Linked DNA regions of Homo sapiens: regions 1 and 2 are each linked to region 3. The links are contacts of gene promoters, found by promoter capture Hi-C in blood cells and fetal thymus (Javierre and others, 2016). All regions are on one chromosome and are shown on one strand. Each heading gives the region's core, a stretch centred on a gene start or on the middle of the fragment in contact. The rest is flanking DNA. Distances are from core to core; before and after follow the strand shown.

Region 1 (4,574 bases), core at 1,115-3,614, 200 kb after region 3:
GTAATCCCAGCACCCAGGAGGCCAATGCAGGCAGATCGCTTGAACCCAGGTGTTCAAGACCAGCCTGTGCAACATGGTGAAACTCTGTCTATATTAAAAACAGAAAAATTACCCAGGCGGCCGGGCATGGTGGCTCATGCCTGTAATCCCAGAACTTTGGGAGGCCAAGGCGGGTGAATCACGAGGTCAGGAGTGCGAGACCAGCCTTGCCAACATGATGAAACCCAATTTATAGAGGTGGGGATAAGGGACCATCTTTAAGAGTTGCCTACCACAAGTCTATAAAATACAGTTTAAAGACCAGAAATAAAAAGAACCCCAGCATATCTACTAGTATCCCAGAAATGCCCTTTGCAAGCCCTCTTCAGTTGCACGCTCTTTCCTCTTCAGAGGGAACCATGATTCCAATTTTTTTTTTTTTTTTTGAGATGAAGTTTTGCTCTTGTTGCCCAGGCTGGAGTGCAATGATGCAATCTCGGCTCACCGCAACCCTCCGCCTCCCAGGTTCAAGCGATTCTCCTGCCTCAGCCTCCCGAGTAGTTGGGATTACAGGCATGTGCCACCATGCCCGGCTAATTTTGTATTTTTAGTAGAGACTGGGTTTCTCCATGTTGGTCAGGCTGGTCTCGAACTCCCTACCTCAGGTGATCCTCCTGCCTCGGCCTCCAAAAGTGCTGGGATTACAGGCGTGCTCAGCCCATGATTCCAATTTTTGTGTTCATCAATCTCTAGCACCTGTGTCCCTAAAAACATATTGAGAAAAAGTGAGAAGCAAGCACAAACCTAATTGTGCAAAGAAAGGTCGAAATTGCCACTATTATGAGGCAGGCTCCCAGGAGAAGGCAAGTTGAGCAGGCTGGGTTAGAGTGTGGCCTCAGGGTCTTTGAGAACACAAGAACTATTTCTGGGAAAGTCAGCCAATGCCTTTCTCCACCTCAGAAAATCTGTAAAATCTATAATATCTGGTTCACAGTCAGATGTTCCCCCTTGTTCTTATAATGTGTTTTTATGTTTATTGCTTTTTAAAATTCTTTTTCAGTCCAGGTACGGTGGCTCATGCCTGTAATCTCAGCACTTTGGGAGGCCGAGGTGGGCAGATCACTTGAGGTCAGGAGTTCGAGACCAACCTGGCCAACATGGTGAAATTCCATCTCTACTCAAAATACAAAATTAGCCAGGCATGGTGGTGCATGTCTGTAATCCCAGCTACTCAGGAGGCCGAGGCAGGAAAATCGCTTGAACCTGGGAGATGAAGGCTGCAGTGAGCCAAGATCGTACCATTGCACCCCAGCCTGGGCAACAGAGCGAGACTCTGTCTCAAAATAAATAAATAAATAAAATTCTATTTCAGGGTTAATAGGTGCAGCAAACCACCATGGCACACATATACCTATGTAACAAACCCGCATGTTCTACACATGTATTCCATATTTTTATTATTTTTTTTTTGAGATAGAGTTTCGCTCTTGTTACCCAGGCTGGAGTGCAATGGCACAATCTCAGCTCATTGCAACCTCCACCTCCTAGGTTCAAGTGATTCTCCTGCCACAGCCTGCCAAGTAGCTGGGAGGCACCACCATGCCCAGCTAATTTTTGTATTTTTAGTAGAGATGGGGTTTCACTATGTTGATCAGGCTGACCTCGAACTCCTGACCTCAGGTGATCTGCCCACCTCGGCCTCCCAAAGTGCTGGGATTACAGGTGTGAGCCACCATGCCTGGCCTGTTTTTTTTTTTTTTTTTTTTTTTTTTGAAGAAATAAAAAAAAATTCTATTTCAATCCTGCTCTTTCTATGAGGATGTATTTTTAAAATCATTCTTATTAAGGTATAATTTACATACAATTAGAATGTCTTTTATAACTGTTCCTCCTCTCTCCACCATTCCCAGGATCTAATTTAGTTTTACACATTACATTTGACTGTTAGGTGTCTTTGGTTTCTTTTACTCCAGAGCAGTCTTTCCACCTTAAAAAACAAAACAAAACCAAAACCTGTAATTTCTGCTTACTAGCTTTTAAAAATTTATTGAGATTATAATTTACATACCATGAAATTACCTTTTTTGTGTGTGTGTGAGATGGAGTCTGTCTTTGTCACTCAGGCTGGAGTGCAGTGGCCTTGATCTTGGCTCACTGCAACCACCCCCTCCTGGATTCAAGTGATTCTCCCACCTCAGCCTCCCAAGTAGCTGGGATTACAGACGCCCACCTAATTTTTGCATTTTTAGTAGAGACGGGGTTTCACTATGTTGGCCAAGCTGGCCTCAAACTCATGACATCAGGTGATCCACCCATCTTGGCCTCCCAAAGTGCTGGGATTACAGGAGTGAGCCACTGCACCTGGCCAAAATTACCCTTTTTAAGAGCACAGTTCAATAATTTTCAGTTAGTTTTAGAGCATTCCATCACCCCAGTACAAGGCCTTGTTTCCATATGTGGTCAATCTTGCTTCAACTGCAGTCCCCTCACCACCTGGCAACTGCAAACATGCCTTCTGTCTCTATAGATTTGTTGTTTCTGGACTTTTTTTTTTTTTTTTTTTTAAGACAGGGTCTTGCTCTGTTACCCAGGCTAAAGTGCAATGGCACGAACATCATTCACTAACACCTTGACCTCCTGGGCTCAAGTGATCCTCCTGCCTCAGCCTCCCAAGTAGCTGGGACCACAGCTATGTACCACCACGTCTGGGTAATTTTTAAGTTTTTTGTAGAGAAGAGGTCTCATCACGTTGCCCAGGCTGGTCTCGATCTCTGGGCTCAAGCAGTCCTCCCACGTCTGTCTCTCAAAGTGCTGGGATTACAGGTGTGAGCCACTGGGCCTGGCTGGACTTTTACAGTGAATCATACACTGTGTGGTCTTTGCTCCTTCCCACTTTGTTTGTTTGTTTGTTTAGAGATGGAGTCTTGCTCTGTCACTCAACCTGGAGTGCAGTGGTGCAATATAACTCACTGAAGCCTCAAACTCCTGAACTCAGTGCAGGACTGGACTCCTGGACTTTATTTTTTTTTACTCCATGTTTTTCTTGTTTATTTGAATCAATGGTTCTGTATGAATGCAATTTTAGGAAATATAAATATTCATCTTAGGGGACTGGCTAAATCTCAGTCTCTTGAGTAGCTGGGATTACAGGTGCATGGCGACATTGTTTCCCTTAAGTGAAAATGATTTTTTTTTTTTTTTTGAGACGGAGTCTTGCTCTGTCACCCAGGCTGGAGTGCGGTGGCGCGATCTCGGCTCACTGCAAGCTCCGCCTCCCAGGTTCACGCCATTCTCCTGCCTCAGCCTCCCGAGTAGCTGGGACTACAGGCGCCCGCTACCAAGCCCGGCTAATTTTCTGTATTTTCAGTAGAGACGGGGTTTCACCTTGTTAGCCAGGATGGTCTCGATCTCCTGACCTCGTGATCCGCCCGCCTCGGCCTCCCAAAGTGCTGAGATTACAGGCGTGAGCCACCGCGCCCGGCCTCTTTTTTTTTTTTTTTTTTTAAGACAGAGTCTCACTCTGTCACCCAGGCTGGAGTGCAATGGGCGATCTTCACTCACTGCAACCTCCGCCTCCCAGGTTCAAGTAATTCTCCTTCCGCAGCCTCCCAAGTAGCTGGGATTAGAGGCTGATGCCACCACGCCCAGCTAATTTTTGTATTTTTAGTAGAGAGGGGGTTTCACGATGTTGTCCAGGTCGGTCTCGAACTCTTGAGTTCAAGTGATCCTCCAAACTCGGCCTCCCAAAGTGCTGGGATTACAGGCGTGAGCCACTGCGCCCAGCCGATGTTGACTCTTTTAAAAGTTCAGGACAGGCTGGGCGCAGTGGCTCACGCCTGTAATCCCAGCACTTTGGGAGGCTGAGGCAGGTGGATCACAAGGTCAGGAGATCGAGACCAACCTGGCCAACATGGTGAAACACTGTCTCTACTAAAATACAAAAAATTAGCCGGGGGTGGTGGCACGCACCTGTAGTCCCAGCTACTCAAGAGGCTGAGGCAGGGGAATCACTTGAACCTGGGAGGCAGATGCCACTGCACTCCAGCCTGGAGACAGAGCGAGACTGTGTATCAAAGAAAAAAAAAAAGTTCAGGACAGCTGGGCACGGTGGCTCACTCCTGTAATCCCAGCACTTTGGGAGGCCAAGGCAGGTAGATTGCTTGAGCTCATGAGTTGGAGACCAGCCTGGGCAACATAGTGAAACCCCATCTTTACAAAAAATACAAAAATTAGCCAGGTGTGAGCCTGTGGTCACACTGGATGCGAGCCTGTGGTCCCAGCTACTCAGGTGGCTGAGGTGGGAGAATCCCTTGAGCCTGAGAGGTGGAGTTTGCAGTGAGACGTGGAGTTTGCAGTGAGACGTGATTGTGCCACTGCACTCCAGCCTGGGTGATAGAGCCAGACCTTGTCTCCAAAAGAAATAAAACAGCTGGGTGCGGTGGCTCACGCCTGCAATTCCAGGCCGAGGCAGGTGAATTATCTGAGGTCAGGAGTTCAGGACCAGCCTGGCCAACATGGTGAAACCCCATCTCTACTAAAAAATAAAAAATTAGCCGGGCGTGGTGGCACATGCCTGTAATCCCAGCTACTCAGGA
Region 2 (4,350 bases), core at 1,564-4,063, 160 kb after region 3:
GGGGCATCACGGTGGGGATCCCCACGCAGGCTGATGCACAGAGGGAGTGTGGAGTGGCTGCACTCCCTCACATCCCGTTTCCTGGTGGTATTGAACAGCATGTTGCCAGCTGTTCTGGCCCCAGAGCAACCTTGCAGGGAGGTCCCAGGGGGTGGCGTGTGCCTCTTTGAGCACATGCAGGCCTATGGTGGGGCCCCGCACCCGGCCTGTGTGTGAGGAGGGGCTGCTCAGCATCCCCACTGTGCCTGGAGACAGGGCCGGGATGTGGTGACAGGATGGTCACTCAGGTGTGGCCAGTCAGTGACCAAAGCTGCTAACAGAGTTCACTTTGTCCTCAGCTGCTCCCGGAACTGACCAACCCTGATGAGCTACTGTCCTACTTGGGCCCACCCGACCTCCCTACGAACAACAATGACGACCTGCTTTCTCTGTTTGAGAACAACTGATCCTGTGTTTACCCCAAGCCCGGCGGGGACACGCTCACAGATGTCACCACAGCCCTGCCCTTCATGCCCAGCCCCATGGGACACCCGGTGGTCTTTCCCAAACCTCCCCCAAAACACACCTGGAGCCAGAGCCTTCTGCCGCCAGCCCTGCCCCTGAATTGGAAGCAGCCCTGTGCTCGATGGGAGGGGCTCCCAGGCCGGCAGCCCTTGCCACCTCCCTCTGCCAAGCCTGCTGCTGCAGAACGGTTTTTGCTGAGGTGCCCCTGCCCAGCCCTGTCCAGCCTTGTCCACACACACATCTCACGCCCCTGGTCTCACAGCCTCACACCTTGTCCTTCCACCCCTGCCTGCCCCCACCCAGCCTGCTTCTTGTCCAGCATTGATCCTTCTGTTTCAACAACTCCTCCACTGGGCAGAGCTGGGCATCTGGCAGGGCTGGCTCTGTCCCCTGGGCCTTTGGCTCCAGTGGCCCCTGTGCCCAGCAGTCCAGCTCTTGGAACCTCGCTGAATGGCAGCCTCTTGGGGGCCTGGAGCTCTGGCAGCCCAGCCGTGTGTGGTGTCAGGTTCCTCTCCCCACCCCAGCTTCAAGCAGAGGCCTCGGGGTGGGGGAGCTACAAAGCACAACAATGTACATAGTGTAGAAACACTAACAGCTGGGAGAGGGGAGCCAGCTGTCCAGCCAGCATGTTCCTGTTGTACAGCCCGGTCTCCCTGCGCGCTCTGCTCCTTCCCATGTGCAGACAGATCAGGGAGGAACCTCCAATGGGTGGGGGACAGTGAGCTTCGGCCTGGCCGAGGTGGGTGGGTGGGCTCTCAGATTCAGCTCTGTGTAAAGATTCTCTAGCGGGCTGCGCTCCCAAGTTCCCCTTCTCTGTGAAAGTGAAGAATTAGTACAGCTGTGTTTTTTAAAGCCACCTCTCTGTCTCCACCCCATGGGCCCACACCCAGGTGGGGGAGGAGGAAGCCACTGCATCTGTTGGCTCAGGGCCCCAGCCTGTGCGAGCAGGGCGCCTGGGCTGTTGTGTCTCCTGTCTGTGCCGATCTCTATTAAAGGACTCCCTCTTGGTGGGCCTGGCCGAGTCCCTCCTTTGTGCTCCCAGGGACTATTTTCTCCTCGTAAGCCAGCGACCTGCCTAAAGCTTGGGCTGTGCCTGCAAAGCTTGTGCAGGACCTGGGGGCCAGGTCGACCTTCAAGTGGCTTTTGGGGCCCCAGGTTGAGCTCTGGATGTTTCAAGCCAAGGCTCGGCTATTCCCGCCCCATAGTAAATTTCCTTTTCCCTGGAATTTTCCAAGTTGGCTTCAGCTGAAGAGCTGTTTTGTGAAGCATCCCAGGCTTGCCCAGGAGAGACATTTGCCACTATGTCACCTTATCTGGGCTTGCCCTGGGGCACTGAGACAGTTGTTTGGCAGCCCCAGCCCAGCCAGGGGCTCATCCTTCTCAGCTCTTGTCCCTGGGAGGCCTCTGCTTGTCACTTCCCAGAGATTGCAGAGGTGTGTCCTGCCTACCATCTGCCTGTCCAGCTTGGTGGGGGTCCGGGTCACCATTTCCTCCAGTCCTGGGCCCCATCCTTGAGGGCCTTCCCAGCCAGCCAGCAGGAGAGGCAAGAACTGGGGGAACACAGGAACCTAGGGGAGGAGGGGAGCGCTGGGCATCCTCAGGCTGGCGGCCAAGGCCTGCCCCTGGAGGCACTAGAGGAGGGCATCTGTCTGTGGGAGCCCAGAGGCTGCAGGGAGGAGGAGGAGGGAGGTATCTGGTGTGAGCGTTGCCCCTGCGACATTTGGGACCACACAGGTGGGCTTCCTTATTCCCTGACAAAGCCTCTGTTTCCAGCTCTTCCGCCCTCTCTGGATGAGGGAACAGAAGTGGAGGAAACAAAAGAAGCAGCAGCACGCACAGTCCTGTCGCTGGGTGCGGAGACAGCCTGGCAAAGTCCCACTCAGCCATGGCCTGATGCAGGCCCCAGGCCCTCCTTTCTTGGGTGTCAAATGACTGTGTCCTGGACATCTGATGCACCACCTGCCCTGCCTGTTGCAAACGTGATGCTCCCGGATGGAGTGGAGAAACTAGGAGACTGGGACAAGCAAAAGGCTGCAAACAACCCAGAAGCCCATCCTCAGAAGACTGGAGAAATGATTGAGGAATGCATGGGCACCGTGGCCCTGTGCTCCATCACAAACACCTCTCAGAAACAACGTGGGATGAAAAAGCAAGACAGTTCATACAGTATGATGCCATTTTTATAAAGCTCAAAACCAAATATGTGTGGAATTCATACCCAGGTGCTAAAGTCATCAGGGAGGGCAGGGAGTCAGTACAACACAGTGCTCACCCGTGGGGAGGGGACGGAGCTGTGCTTAGGGAAGAGCAGAGATGCTGGAGGTTTTGAACCTCAGGGTCAGTGGTGGCTTCGTGGGTTTCACTTTGTCGTACTTTCTGTTTCACACATTTTCTTGTGAATGTGCCAAGTATTACATAAAAACCAAAAGGCTGACCAGACTTAACAGTGCTCCACCCAATAGCAGCAGAACACACGTTTCTAAGTGCACAGGGAACGTTCTCCAGGACAGACCACACGTTAGTGCACAAAGCAAGTCTCAGTAAATTAGAGATCGGAATCCTGCAAACCACCTTCTCCAATCACAATGGAATAAAACCAGAAATCCATACCAGAAGGAAAATGAAAATTCACACATACATAGAAATTGAACACACTTTTTAACAGCCAAAGGGTCAAAGGAGAAATCACGAGAAAAATTAGGAAATAGAGATGGATGAAAACAACATACCAGAACTTAAGGAATGCGGCAAAAACTGCTCTGAGGGAAATTTATAGCTGCAAATGCCAACATTTAAAAAGATGCGACATCTTGGCTGGGTGTGGTGGCTCACGCCTGTAATCGCGGCACTTTGGGAGGCCGAGGCAGGCAGATCACCTGAGGTCAGAAGTTCGAGACCAACCTGGCCAAAGTGGTGAAACCCTGTCTCTACTAAAAACACAAAAATTAGCCAGGCGTGGTGGCTCACACCTGTAATCCCAGCTATTCACGAGGCTGAGGCAGGAAAATCACTTGAACCCAGGAGGCAGAGGTTGCAGTGAGCTGAGATCATGCCATTGCACTCCAGCTTGGGTGACAGAGTGAGACTCTGTCTCAAAACAACAACAAAAAAATTCCTAGAAAGATACAAATGACCAAAATTGTCCCAGGAAAAATAGAAAATCTGAACAGGGCCAGGTGCAGTGGCTCACACCTGTGATCCCAGCACTTGGGGAGAACTAGTTAGGAGGATGGCCTGAGGCCAGGAGTTCGAGACCAGCCTGGGCAACAGAGACCCTGCCTCGACAAAATCTTTAGAAATCAACCAGGTGTCATGGCACGTGCCTGTAGCCCCAGCTACTTGGGAGGCTGAAGCAGGAGGATAGCTAGAGCCCAGGAGTTCAAAGCTGCAACGACCTATGACAGCACCACTGCACTCCAGCCAGGAATGAGGCAGAGACAGAGACCTGACCTCAAAAAAAGAAGAAAAAGGAAAAAATCTGAACCAACCTAAAACACATAGGTAGAACCAGTCATCAAAAGCTTCCCAACAAAAGAAAAGCCCAGGACCAGATGGTGAATTCTACCAAATGCTAAAGAATGGACATAAATCCCCAAATTCTCCCAAACATTGTGGAGGAGAAAACACTTCCTAATTCCCCGTATTCATGTGAGGGGCCAGCTTCCCTCCCATTCTGCCCCAGCTTCCTCCAGTGGCCTTCCCCAGCAGGCAGTGGCCCCCACTTCTGACCCCTGTAACTCTACCCACTGTGGGTTTCCTCCTTGCCACCCTTCCAGCCTTCCAGGCTTTGGGGGCCATTGAGACAGCCCATCCTGCCTGCCCTGAGTGGGAGGGCAAGACATGACT
Region 3 (4,786 bases), core at 1,264-3,763:
GCCTTCTGCCTATAAAACCTGCCCCCAGATTCCATCTTGGGGAGACAAATTTGAGTATTGCCTCTGGTTTCCCTGCTGGTCGACCTTACGATAAAGCCTTTTCTCAAAAGGTGATGACATAGTATTGGCTTCTATGTGCATCTAGCAGTGAGCCCACTGCTTGGTACCACAATGGGCTCAAACATTTATAAGCCAATGTTCATTGCAACATTATTCAAAACAGCAAAAAAGCAGAAATAACCAAGTGTCCATCAATAGATGAATAAATAAACAAAATGTGGTATATACATACAATGGAATATTATTCAGCCATAAAAAGAAATGAAGTTCTGGCCAGGCATGGGGGCTCATGCCTGTAATCCCAGCACTTTGGGAGGTCGAGGTGGGTGGATCACTTGAGGTCAAGAGTTCAAGACCAGCCTGGCCAACATGGTGAAACCCCATCGCTACTAAAAATACAAAATAAGCTGGGCGTAGTGGCGGGCGCTTATAATCCCAGCTACTTGAGAGGCTGAGGCAGGAGAATTGCTTGAATCTACAAGGCAGAGGTTGCAGTGAGCCGAGATGACACCACTGCACTCCAGCCTGGGCAACAAGAACGAAACACCATCTCAAAAATAAAAAAAGAAAGAAAGAAAAAGAAAAAAATATTAGCCAGGCATGGTGGAGCGTGCCAGTAGTCCCAGCTACTTGGGAGGCTGAGGCATCAGAATCACTTGAACCTGGGTGGCAGAGATTGCAGTGAGCTGAGATGGCACCACTGCCCTCCAGCCTGAAACCGAGGGAGATCCTGTCTCAAAAAAAAAAAAAAGAAATGAAGTTCTGACCCATGCTACAACACAGATAAACCTTGACAACCTCATGCTCAATGAAATAAGGTGGACACAAAAGGACATATACATTATGATTTCACCCACATAAAGTAATTGAGTAATCAAATGTATAGAGACCGTATAATAGAGGTTACCAAAGGAGAGAAGGACAGGAGGAGAAGGGGAAATAGGAAGTTATTGCTTAATGGTTACAGAGTTGCTGTTTCAGGTGATGAAAAAGTTTTGGAAATTGAGTGGTGACGGTTGCATAATATTGTGAATGTAATTAATGCCACTGAGTTATACACCTAAAAATGGTTAAAATGGCATTAAAAAAAAAAAGACAGTATCTTGCTCTCTGGCCCAGGCTGGAGTGCAGTGGTACAATCATAGCTCACTGCAGCCTCAATCTCTCAGGCTCAAGAGATCCTCCTGCCTCAGCCTCCCAATTAGCTGAGACTACAGGTGAGTGCCACTACACCTGGCTAATTTTCTTGATTTTTTAGTAGAAATGAGATCTTGCTCTGTTCCCCAGGCTGATCTGGAACTCCTGAGCTCAAGCGATCCTCCCGCCTCCACCTCCCGAAGTGCTGGGATTACAAGCGTGAGCCACTGCACCCAGCTGCAAATGTTTAGTACATACATTTTTACCGTAATTTATTTAAAAAAAAAAAAGGAAAAAAGAATACAGAAGTTTGTTCCTTGGTCTCTTCACCTCTTCCAGTCTCTAGATCCTTGTCACATACATTACCCTAACTTTGTTCTATAATAAGCACTTATACGCCCCCTTTTTTTGTTTGTTTTTTGAGACGGATTTTCGCTCTTGTTGCCCAGGCTGGAGTGCAATGGCACGATCTCGGCACACCGCAACCTCCGTCTCCCGGGTTCTAGCGACTCTCCTGCCTCAGCCTCCCGAGTAGCTGGGATCGCCACCACGCCCAGCTAATTTTTGTATTTTTAGTAGAGACGGGGTTTCCCCATGTTGGTCAAGCTGGTCTCGAACTCCTGACCTCAAGTGATCCGCCCGCTTCGGCCTCCCAAAGTACTGGGATTACAGGCGTGAGCCACCGCGCCCGGCCTTTCCCCAAATTTTAATACTTTAAAATAGGGAACATCTTACAATCAACAGGTTGTGACAGGTTAATTAGCCACGTTTTATCTTTGATAGGTAGCTCTAAAGTCAAGAAAACCCAGGCAAGATCCCGGGCAAGATCCCAGCACTGCCAACTGTCATTTGTAGACCGGGGATAGGAACACCTGTCTCACAGATTGTTACACAATAGCGCCGGTGAAGCGCTTGTCACAAAGCCTGACCCAGGACAATCTCAAAAACGGAGATTCTGTTATTCAAATTGTTTATTTTTGTGCGCTAAGTTTCACATCAACCCAACTATCTCTTGATAGGTTCCTACCAGGCGCTAGAGATATCTTACTTTCAGAAATTATTTATGATAGCAGAAGCCGCTGGAAGTCCATAGACAACCTCATCTCTCTAGCGGAGCAAACAGCTGGGCTCCAGCTGGCCCTGGCTTCTGCAACTGCGCAGTCGGCGCTGTGACGCCCGGCGCGGCTCTGTGACGTCACGAATCGGTCCTCTGTAAGAGGGGAGGGCATTCTTCTCCAGGGGAGGGCTACGTGTTGACGCCATACGCCGGGGCGGGGCCGAGAGTTTGGAGCCCCGGAGTGGGGTGTCGGCGCCTCATTCGGGTGGAGCTGAGCCGGAGACAGGTAACCGTGCGCTGTCGCCGCGCCCGTCCCAGTGCCGGGTGTCGCGGCGCTTGGCGGCCCGGGGTTGGAGATCGCGGTAAAGGGGGAGGCCGCCGCGCCCTTGGTGCTGCGGGCGCCGCGGTGACAGGGGAGTGGAGCTGGATGGAGTGGGGCTCACGGAGGGTGGTAGGAGGGACGGGACCTGATGGATGGCCGTGGCAGCCAATGGAGCCGCGGGGCCTGCCCGGCGGGCGGAGATTGGCGGGTACGGGCGGGCTCCGAGGTCGCGCGGGGCGCGGAGCGACGCGCCATTGGCGGTGGGCGAGCGGGGGGCGGGCGCGGCGGCGGATGTGAGGGAGAGGGCGGTGCGTCCGCAGGGGTGACCCCCAAGGTCGCCGCGGGCGTCACGTGGTTAGGCCGCTCTCCGACGGCGTCCTTCCCGACCGGGACGCACTCTCCTTCCCGCCTGTGAGGACCGCGTCGCTTTGTCCGAAAGACAGTGTGGCCTGCTCGAGTTGCGTCGGAGCATCTGGCTTTGGGGTGGCCCTGGGTGGGACTGCCTGTTTGGATTACCGCGCAGACCTTGGCGCCGCCCCCACACCTGCTGCCAGAAGTTGGGTCGAACAGATTGACCGAGATGAAGCTTATTTCTCGTAGAAACATCTTTCAAGCACCATTTTCCCTCGAAAATATATCAGACATTGGATATGAGTTGTAATCTACTGAGATTTAATAGAAAACTTGCCGCGCCCTCGCCCTGACCTGGGTGCGTCCCACCTGCCATCCCCATCCCTTTGCCCAGAACATAGGACTTCGTGTTAGGGTTTCCTTGTGCCTTGTCTTGCAGTCCGTACTTTGAGGCTGATTTCCAGGTACACTGCTCTGAACAGCTGGGTTTAGGATGGGTGGCATGGGATAAAGCCTTTTTTTGTAAGGCAGCACTAGTTGCAACAGTCAAACTGTACTTTGCCGTGTAGACCTAGGAGAGTATGTAACACTATTGTAGTTTTGTAAATTAGCTGAGGACTGGATCTTGGGAAGTTGAATAAAGATCACTGTATGCTCATTTTTTGTTGTTGTTGTCTTGTTTGAGATGGAGTCTCTGTCGCCCAGGCTGGAGTGCTGTGGCGCGATCTCGGCTCACTGCAACCTCTGCCTTCCTGGGTTCAAGTGATTCTCCTGCCTCAGCCTCCCAAGTAGCTGATATTACAGGCACGCGCCATCACGCCCGGCTAATTTTTGTATTTTTAGTAGAGACGGGTTTTCACCACCTTGGCCAGGCTATTCTCGAACTCCTGACCTCAGGTGATCCGCCCGCCTCGGCCCCCAAAGTGCTGGGATTACAGGCGTGAGCCACTGCGCCCGGCCCCTCATTATTTTTTTTAAGCGCACTTTTCACATTTCAGTTACTTTTTCCCTTTAAATAACATCTTTATTGAGATAAAATTCACATACCATACGATTCACCCATTTGACGTGCACAATTTCGGCCAGTCGTGGTGGCTCACGTTTGTAATCCCCACACTTTGGGAGTGTGAAAGGAAGATCCCTTGAGCTCAGTTCAAGGAGACCAGCCTGAGCAACCAAAGTGATACCCGGCGTCTACAAAAAATAAAATTATCCGGATATGGTGGCATATACCACATATACTTGTAGTCGCAACTACTCAGGAGGCTGAGGCGGGAGGATGGCATGAGCCAGGGAGGTCCAAGCTGCAGTGAGCCATTATTGCCCCACTGCACTCTAGCCTGGGTGACACAGTGAGATCCTGTCTCAAAAAAAAAGGCCGGGCGCAGTGGCTCACGCCTGTAATCCTAGCACTTTGGGAGGCCGAGGTGGGTGGATCCCCTGAGGTTGGGAGTTTGAGACCAGCCTGGCCAACATGGTGAAACCCTGTCTCTACTAAAAATACAAAAGTTAGCAGGGCATGGTGGCGTGGGCCTGTAGTCTCAGCTACAGGCTGAGCTCCTCCAGCCTCAGCAGGAGGCTGAGGCAGGAGAATCGCTTGAACGCAGGAGGCAGAGGTTGCAGCGAGTCGAGATGGCGCCACGGCACTACAGCCTGAGCGACAGAGCAAGACTCCATCTCAAAAAAAAAAGGAAAGAAAAAACTACAGTATCATCTACTTTTTAGATTTTTAGGTAATTTTTGAGATCATTGTACAAATTATTGAGAAATTCATTTTGAAAACAGTAAAATTTTAAGAAATTGTACATAAAAATTTATTCTATGCAGTCATAATAAATAGTACAGAGAGATCCTGTGTT

The links. The method cuts DNA at HindIII sites, captures the fragments that hold promoters and counts their contacts. A CHiCAGO score of 5 or more calls a contact.
Region 1: a fragment that was not itself captured here is called in contact with the fragment with the promoter of OGDH in region 3 in 4 of 17 cell types (naive CD8 T cells, total B cells, activated CD4 T cells and 1 more); the score reaches 7.0 in naive CD8 T cells.
Region 2: a fragment that was not itself captured here is called in contact with the fragment with the promoter of OGDH in region 3 in 8 of 17 cell types (total B cells, erythroblasts, endothelial precursors and 5 more); the score reaches 10.0 in total B cells.

What each region holds. Positions count from the first base shown.
Region 1 is chr7:44,806,310-44,810,883 of GRCh38, forward strand. No RefSeq gene overlaps it. Among named protein-coding and RNA genes, the nearest start is that of PPIA, 12 kb to the left of the region's middle. The HindIII fragment of the contact is 4,939 bases long and covers 1-4,574 here.
Region 2 is chr7:44,767,178-44,771,527 of GRCh38, forward strand. It overlaps ZMIZ2 (zinc finger MIZ-type containing 2), which reads left to right. Exons shown (of 19, transcript NM_031449.4): 19 at 339-2,704. The coding sequence ends at 446. Among named protein-coding and RNA genes, the nearest start is that of ZMIZ2, 21 kb to the left of the region's middle. RefSeq lists enhancers at 807-1,333, 1,168-1,307. The HindIII fragment of the contact is 2,420 bases long and covers 1,604-4,023 here.
Region 3 is chr7:44,604,114-44,608,899 of GRCh38, forward strand. It overlaps OGDH (oxoglutarate dehydrogenase), which reads left to right and starts at 2,514. Exons shown (of 23, transcript NM_002541.4): 1 at 2,514-2,540. RefSeq lists enhancers at 2,074-2,673, 2,925-3,488, 3,164-3,503 and a silencer at 2,714-2,943. The HindIII fragment of the contact is 8,395 bases long and covers 1-3,160 here.